2 separate regions of the Homo sapiens genome follow, and region 2 is linked to region 1. Evidence: promoter capture Hi-C in human tissues and cell types (Jung and others, 2019). All regions are on one chromosome and are shown on one strand. Each heading gives the region's core, a stretch centred on a gene start or on the middle of the fragment in contact. The rest is flanking DNA. Distances are from core to core; before and after follow the strand shown. Region 1 overlaps MXRA7 (matrix remodeling associated 7). Region 2 holds the start of UBALD2 (UBA like domain containing 2).

Evidence for each region. The method cuts DNA at HindIII sites, captures the fragments that hold promoters and counts their contacts. A contact is called where the count stands out against the background at its distance.
Region 2: the fragment with the promoter of UBALD2 here is called in contact with a fragment that was not itself captured in region 1 in 2 of the 25 tissues and cell types used here (aorta and dorsolateral prefrontal cortex).

The regions. Positions count from the first base shown.
Region 1 is chr17:76,705,236-76,709,235 of GRCh38, reverse strand. The region is part of intron 1 of MXRA7 (matrix remodeling associated 7); the gene reads left to right. Among named protein-coding and RNA genes, the nearest start is that of MXRA7, 3.7 kb to the left of the region's middle. The HindIII fragment of the contact is 4,690 bases long and covers 29-4,000 here.
Region 2 is chr17:76,263,703-76,267,702 of GRCh38, reverse strand. UBALD2 (UBA like domain containing 2) reads right to left here and starts at 2,355. Exons shown (of 3, transcript NM_182565.4): 1 at 2,078-2,355; 2 at 1,734-1,796. The coding sequence starts at 2,197. LOC105371896 (a long non-coding RNA gene) reads left to right here and starts at 2,622. Exons shown (of 6, transcript XR_007065913.1): 1 at 2,622-4,000. RefSeq lists enhancers at 1,543-1,642, 2,903-2,952 and silencers at 1,813-1,952, 2,253-2,552. The HindIII fragment of the contact is 4,971 bases long and covers 774-4,000 here.

The DNA.
Region 1 (4,000 bases), core at 1,124-3,623:
TTAGACAGTTCTGGAGCCGTCATGCACACTCAGTCAGTCCTGGCCTTACAGGGCTGGCCCTTTATCACCCACACCAGGCTCTGGACTGAAGTGCAAAATGTCCTTTAGCGGCGCCCTGTCTTAGCTCAATCCTGTGGGGCACAGCGCTTAAAGAACTTTCTACAAGGCTTTCGGCTCTCAGCACATGGTACCTACAGGAATAGGTTCAGTGGTGTTTAAATAGGGCCACTCGCATAATTTGCCACTGTCTGGGTGAATGCACGTCCTCTGAAGCTGAATGGGTGCTCTGAAGGACAAGGCAGTATGGGGGTTCGCGTGCCAGGCAGCCCCCATGACATAGGTGCCAGTGAGGATGACTTGAGGCTTGTGTCTGTCCTCCCGCTAAGGCACCCTCCAGAGAGAACCCACCCCACAGGAGAATTCAATTGAAGTCAGTGCCCTTCCCCTTTGGGTTCAAGTCCCCAGGCCTTCCTGAGCTGGCCAAAGCTCCCCCAAAACTCCTGCCTGCAAACATTAAGCCAGGTGCTGTGGGGACACAGATATTGTGTCATCCCACCCACTCCCAGTGGTGGCATTAACCTAAGAAGCTGCTTAGAAATTGTCTTGATGAGCTTCGAGTCAGTGACAAGAAAAAAAAGAAAGGAAAACAAATTGTCCTGAAGTGGACTCCAGCGTTTCCAAGAGCTTCCAGTGCTTTCTTCTGATGATCACACTGCTGGGGCTTGGAGGACAGATAGGGAGAAAGGCCCCCTGGGGAAGATAACTCAAATCAGGGTTGGGAAGTGGGGCTATGCCCTCTGCCAGCCTCCTTCTCCCTCCGTCCCTAAGCGAACCCCACCAACAGCGAGGGAGGAGGGCAACTCCACCTGCTGTTAGCTCGGAAGTCACTGCCCTGGGGAGCAGCGTGTAACTCACCTCTCCCCTCCCTCTTCATTTTCCATTAACTGCCTCCTTTCTAATCCAGTCCTCTCCCTTCCCAGGGAGGCCTGGGCGGGCTGGGGCAGCTGCTGCCTCTGACTACAAAGCTGATTATTGAGAAGGATCTCTCGCCCCGGGAAGCAGCCTTCAGCTGCTATTGGGGATCGCTCAGGAGCGTCCCCTAGTGCACGGTGCCCTCTTTGGCCAAGGACAAAGTAGTGGGGAGGGGCTACTATAGGCCGAGACCCTGGAAATGGACCAAAGAAATGGGGATGAGATCAGTGCAGCTCTTGCTTCCCCAGGGCAGCACAGGCCAGGGCAGGGAGGCTGAGGAGAAGCGGAATGATACTGCTAGAACCTCTTTTCTCTCCTAAGGATTAGCACAGGGTGGGCTGTGAGGAAGCATTATAGGCAAGGCCTGTTCACGCAAAGAATCATGAGCCAACGAAGTCAAGAACAGGAGCCGGCCTCTTTTCAGGCCAGGACTCAGGGCTTTCTTGGTGCTCCTGTGTAGGTTGGGGTTTTAGGATTGCCAGGCCTCTTACCTAATGGACTTGTGGATTGGAGCAAGGCTGGATGGTCGGATTCCCAAACATTGGTAATTGGCAAAGCGTCAAGGGTCATTTGAATAGCACTAGAGTTAAATTTCTTGTCTGTGCCAGGACTCAAGTATCTCGGTACTTGGGGCCTAGCTCTGCTCATAGACAGACTAGAGCCCGGGCGCGATGGCTCACACCTGTAATCCCAGCACTTTGGGAGGCCGAGGCAGGAGGATCACCTGAGGTCAGGAGTTCGAGACCAACCTGGCCAACATGGCGAAACCCCGTCTCTACTAAAAATACAGAAATTAGCCAGGCATGGTGGCGTGCACGTCATCCCATCTACTCAGGAAACTGAGGCAGGAGAATCACTTGAACCCAGGAGGCTGAGGTTGCAGTTGAGCCAAGATCGTGCCACTGCACTTCAGCCTGGGCAACAGAACGAGACTCCATCTCAAAAAAAAAAAAAAAAAAAAAAAAAAAAAAAGAGTAGGGACTTCCTGCAAGGCAGTGGGCCGGTGTCATGAAGCACACAGAGACTCTTCTAGATTTAATTGGGATTTAGGAGATTAAAGCAATATGACAAATAAATACAATCTTGATCCTTGATTGGATTCTCCATCAGAGAAGGGAGCTATAAAGGACATACTGGAGATAATTGAGACATTTTTTAAATGAATGGCTGTGTTAGGTAAGCTTATTGAATCAACGCTGAATTTTTTGTGTACGATACCGGCAGATGGCTGTGTAAACAATGTCCTTATCCTTAGGAAGATGCAGGCTGAAACATTTTGGGATGACATGTCATGATTCAAATAGTTACATGCACACACACACACAGTGTGTGTGTGTATAGAGAGAGAATGCAAAGATGGCAAAATGTTAACCATTGGTGAATCTAGGTGAAGGGTGTATGGTATTCATTGTATTATTATTTCAACTTTTCTGTAGGTTTGGAATTTTTCAAAAGAGAATGTTGGAACAAAGAAGCCAACATTCTTCTTTGGGAAATTTCTTGGGAAAGGGGTTGGTTTTTCAGACACTCTGGAGGTGGTGGTCTGAGTGGGTAGCACAGCCTTCATCTGTCTGTCTTAACCATGTGACTTGGCCCTGGTTCCCCTGAAGTCACCCTGCTGTCAGGTCCACCTGTGTCCTCTGCCCTCACCAACCTGTTCACCATAGGTGTGGGCTCTGGAAGCTACAGAGACCCCAGCCTTCCCAGAATGACCCAGGAGCAGGTGAACTTCCCCATCATCTCTCCTGCCTTTGTGATGGCAGTGTGGTCCTTTTTGATGGCAGTGTGGTCCTTTTTGATGGCAGTGTGGTCCTTTTTGATGGCAGTGTGGTCCTTTGTGATGGCAGTGTGGGCCTCTGTGACGGCAGCGTGGGCCTCTGTGACGGCAGCGTGGGCCTCTGTGATGGCAGAGTGGGCCTCTGTGATGGCAGCGTGGTCCTTTGTGATGGCAGCGTGGGCCTCTGTGACGGCAGCGTGGGCCTCTGTGACGGCAGCGTGGGCCTCTGTGATGGCAGAGTGGGCCTCTGTGACGGCAGAGTGGGCCTTTGTGATGGCAGCGTGGGCCTCTGTGATGGCAGCGTGGGCCTCTGTGACGGCAGCGTGGGCCTCTGTGACGGCAGTGTGGTCCTTTGTGATGGCAGCGTGGGCCTTTGTGATGGCAGCGTGGGCCTTTGTGATGGCAGTGTGGTCCTCTGTGATGGCAGTGTGGTCCTTTGTGATAGCAGAGTGGGCCTTCGTGATGGCAGTGTGGTCCTCTGTGATGGCAGTGTGGGCCTTTGTGATGGCAGTGTGGTCCTACTTTCTGTTCTCTTAGCAAAATCTCAGAAGCCAAGTAGTGGAGGGCCAAGTAGATATTTGCCAGTTGTTTATATCACTTTAGGTCCTTGTCTTTAAGCAGCTTAGGCTGATATATCAAAATACCACAGACTGGGTTGCTTAAACAACAGGCATTATTTCCTACACTTTTGGAGGCTGGGAAGTCCAAGATGGAGGTGTTGGCAGATTCTGGTTTTGGTGAGGGCTCTCTTTTTGGCCTGCAGACAGCCACCTTCTTGCTGTACTTTCACATGCCAGAGAGAGAGGGATGTCTCTTCCTCTTCTTATCAGGGCCCTCATAGCATTGTAGGGACTCCACCATCGTGACCTCGTCTAAATCTCACCTCCCAAAGACCCCCACCTCCAGATACCATCACACTGGGGGTTAAGACTTCAACAGATAGATTTGCAGGGGACACAAATATTTAGTCCAGAACAGGCCCAGTGACTTACTGGGGAAAAAACTAGAAATAATCCAAATGTTCATTAATTAGCACATTGGATTCATTAGCAAATTAGTATGAAATAAGTAAAAAGGTAGAACATAAAATATTGTATTCACAATAACTATAACGATATAGAGCAACTGAATAGAAGATGCCTTGGAGGGCTGTAAGTAGAGTTCCCTGTTCAGTAGTTCCAGTGGGTATTTTTTTGTAAAGTTGTTTGAGTGCCTAACTTAATTTTTTTCCATATATGAAAGAAGTCCAGG
Region 2 (4,000 bases), core at 1,106-3,605, 440 kb after region 1:
TAAGAGTGAAACTCTGTCTCAAAAAAAAAAAAAAAGAAAAGAAATTGCCAGCTGGGTGCAGTGGCTCACACCTATAATCCCAGCACTTCGGGAGGCTGAGGCGGAAGGATAGCTTGAGGCCAGGAGTTCAAGACCAGCTTGGGCCACATAGAGACTCCCCCTGCCCTGGCCTTTCTCAAAAATAAAATTAGAAAAAAAAAAAAAAAAAAAAAGAAACCATGAACTTTTTGAGAGCAGGGATGGTGTCCTCCACTGTGCTGCTAAGGCACTCAGACTTGGGCACTGATGGACACACTGGTTATGTGTGTTACAAAACCTGCTGCCTTCCTTGAGGGAAGCTTCAAAAGAGACTTAGCATCTCCTTGGGATTTGCAGAGGAGGGGCAATAGGAACTAAACAGGATGCCAGACCAGCTCTTCCTGGGGAGCCTCCCTGTTCTCAGCCCCTCAGAATGGCTGTAGTATCTGGAAGTTCTGAGTTTTTTGGGATGGCCACAGCTGGTGGAAGGAAATCTCAAGGATCCGGTGACAGGAGATGGCAGGAAGCTTCGAGACTCAAGCATAGGCGGGTGCTGGCCATTTCTCCTGGTCAAGTGCAGGGGACGGTGTCCCCTGGAGATGAAACCCTCTTGGGTTTCTAAGAGCCCTGTGGCCAGCACCATGCTCCCATCATACTCAAATGCCATTTTGGCTTGATTTATATACAGCATCAGCCATTCTGAGAAAAACTAGCTAACAAGGTCAAGACAGACCCCTCTACTTGTCCTCTGTGACTAGATGAAAACAGAGAGCCAAAGGCAAGGGCACCAAGTGTTAAAAATCCCAAAAATGCACCTAGAGTCCACAACAGCTCTCCTGGGGAACAATGTTTTAAGATCCCTATCGCTGAGCCCTGCCCCTCCTCCCCCAGCAGGGCTAATAGGTAACTAGGGGGGTAGGGTACAGGAGAGATGTCCTGGGCCTCAAGAAAGCAGAGTACCCCATGGCCAGGAGGGCAAAAGCTTGGGCCTGGGCTAGAATGAAAAAGAAAGCAAATCCAGACCCCGGACCACTTCTCTGTGTGCTGGGCTGGTGGAGCTCAACACAGAGATTAAAGACACATTCCTGGCCTTATCTTGGGTCAAAATCTGTGTGTCCTCCTGGCTTGGGGGATGTATGTCCTTCCAACTTCCCAGTCCCCTTGGGCTTCGGAAGGTTGAACAGATCTTTGTGGGTAGAGCCCGGCTTCCTGAGCCAGGGTGGATTCATGCCTTTCCTGTTCCCTGTAGCGCTGGGTGTGTGTGTGTGTGGAGGGGGAGGGGGGAAACCACTCAACAGCACGAGGGGGTCCCCATAAACACAAGCACCCCCATCGCCCTCCCTGGGCCCTTCGCGCGGGCTTCCCAGTGCCCCAGACGTCCGGGCATCACCCTCTCCCCCTCCCCATCCCCTGGCTCTGGGGTCCCCCAGCTCCTGAGCCCCTCGCCAGGCCCCCGGCCCTCTCCCCCTCCCCCCAACTTTGGCGCCGCTTCCCCCCAGGGACCAGTGCCGGGCACCAGTCCCGAGGCCAAGCAGCAGCAGCCCGGGAGGCGGGCCTCAAAGTTGGAGGCGCCAGCGCCGGCCCGGGAGCCGCTCTTTCCTGGAAGACATTTTGGCTCTTTGTTTACATTCGCGGCGCGGCGCTCCCCGGCAACATGGCTGTCACCGCCGCGCTGACAGCGGCCCCGGCCCGCGCCCCTGCCCGCCGCCGCTTACCATCTGGTGGTGGTGGTGGCTGTTGGGAATGTTGGTTTCTTGGAAGAACGTGCTCAGCGCGGTCTGCGGACAAACAGGGCAGTGACACGGCGGGCCAGGCGGAGTCAGGAAACGCAGCGGCTGGGCCCCCCACCGGCTCTCCCCGCCTCCGCGCCCGGCCCGCGGCCCCCGACCCTCGGCTGCCCCACGTGCAGAGGGGAGCCGGTCCCGGCCCCGGTCCCGCGTAAGACCCGCTCGCGGGCGCCGATCGCCTTCCGGGCCGACAACAGGAGCGCTCCCCGCCCCCGCCGCCGCCCGGCGTCCCCGACCCCCGCGGCCCGGCCCCGCGGCGGCCAGGCTCGCACCTCGAACTGCCAGTGGGCCGCCTGCAGCAACTGCTTCGCCTGGTCGGCCGCGCAGCCCGCGGCCAGCACGAACTGGTTGATCATGACCTGGTGCCGCAGCTCGTCCATGTTCACCGACATGGCGCGGCGCGGCGCGGGGCCCGGCGTCTCCGGCCGGACGCAGACGCGGGGCTGCGCGGGCGCGGGAGGCCGGCCGCCCGGGGCTCCGGGGCTCGCGCTCACCGCTGCTGCCGCCGCTCCGCCGCCCGCTCCGCCGCCGCCCGCCCGGCGAATGTTGTGGTTCGACTCCCGCGGCCCGGCCGACACCACAAACAACAGCGCGGGGCGGGGCTGGGCCGGCCCAACGTTCGGGGACTGCCGCTGATTGGCCGGGGCGCCGCTCCGCCAGCGCCCGGCTCCCGTAAGGACGTTCGATTCGAATCCTGCGGCCTGTGGGGCCCTCACTGTTTCTCTTTTCGCCCGGCCGCGCCCATTGGCGGAGCTCGGCGCCGTGGGGCTCCCCAGCATTGGCCGGCCGCTGTGTTTTGGCTCATCCGGCCTCGTGGTTGGTCACGGCCGGGCGTTCGGGGCGGGGCCGCGCACTCTGATTGGCCTCCGGTGGTCCTGTTTGAACTCAACTTGAAAACCCGGAGTGCCTGCTGATTGGCCGAGGGCCCTCTGTTTGCTGTTGTAGGCTTGGGGGTGGTGCGGCCAAGTTCATTCATTACTTCATTGAAACAGAACATGCTCAGCTGGAAAAGCAAGACAGAGTGGCTTTGACTCATTTCCTCTGAAAGATGTGGTCATCTCGAGAAACAGAATGATCAAAATAGAAAACAGAGCCTTTGCAGCTGCTCAAGTCTCAAAAGCATGTAATTTTTAAAAATAACTTTCAAGCAGTCCAATTTAAAAAAATCTTTTATTGAAATATAACGTACATTAGGAAAGTGCGATGTCGCAGGTACAGCTTCCAGACTTTTCACCAAGTGAACACCCAGATCAATTAACAGAACGTTACTTGCACCCTAGGAACCCGCGTCCTGCCCTCTTCTAATCACTACCCACCGCAAGGATCGAGCAGTATTTTCTCAGTTTTTAGACCAAAGACTTTGCTCTCTGAAGATGGAAGCCAAGATTTATGTACAATAAATACGATATGCAAGGAAATATGCAAGGAAAAAAGTGAGACTTTCTCAGTGGCCAAAATGCCAAGTCAAGAATTTTTTCTTGTTAAATCGGTTGACCTAACTGAAGCTTTAATTTTCTTTTTTTTTTTTTCTCTTGCTTGTCACGAAAGCTAAGATGAAGCTTTAATTTCTACCATCTTTTAAAAAAACAACGGGTGGCAGTAGGGGTGGAGTCTGGGGTTGGGATGGCTTACACCTATAATCCCAGCACTTTGGGAGGCCGAGACAGGAGGATAACTTGAGGCCGGGAGTTCAACACCAGCTTGGGCAACATAGCACAGACTCCATCTCTACCAAATAAAAACAAACAATAACAAACAGTGAGTGTTTCTACAGAGATACTGTTTCTCAGTGGTAGCCCTTTAAAGTCCAAAATTTGGTGGTGGTGGTTGTTAGATAGGGCTAGAGTGACATGATCATGGCTCACTGTAACTTCGAGCGATCCTCTTGCCTCAGCCTCTCGAGTAGCTGGGACTACAGGCACACACCACCATGCCTGACTAATTTTTGAATTTTTGGTAGAGATGAGATCTCACTATTGTTGCCCAGGCTGGTCTTGAACTCCTGGACTAAAGTGATCCTCCTGCCTCAGCCTCCCAAAGCACAGGGATTACAGGTGTGAGCCACCATGCCTGGCCCCAAATTTGTTTGTATGTGCTGAGCTTCCATCTTCTGGATTAGAGTTTGATCTTCAGGGCTGTGTTTGAGAATTGTGGGGGTAGGAAAAGAACTAGGAGTTTAAGCAGATTGGGGAAGG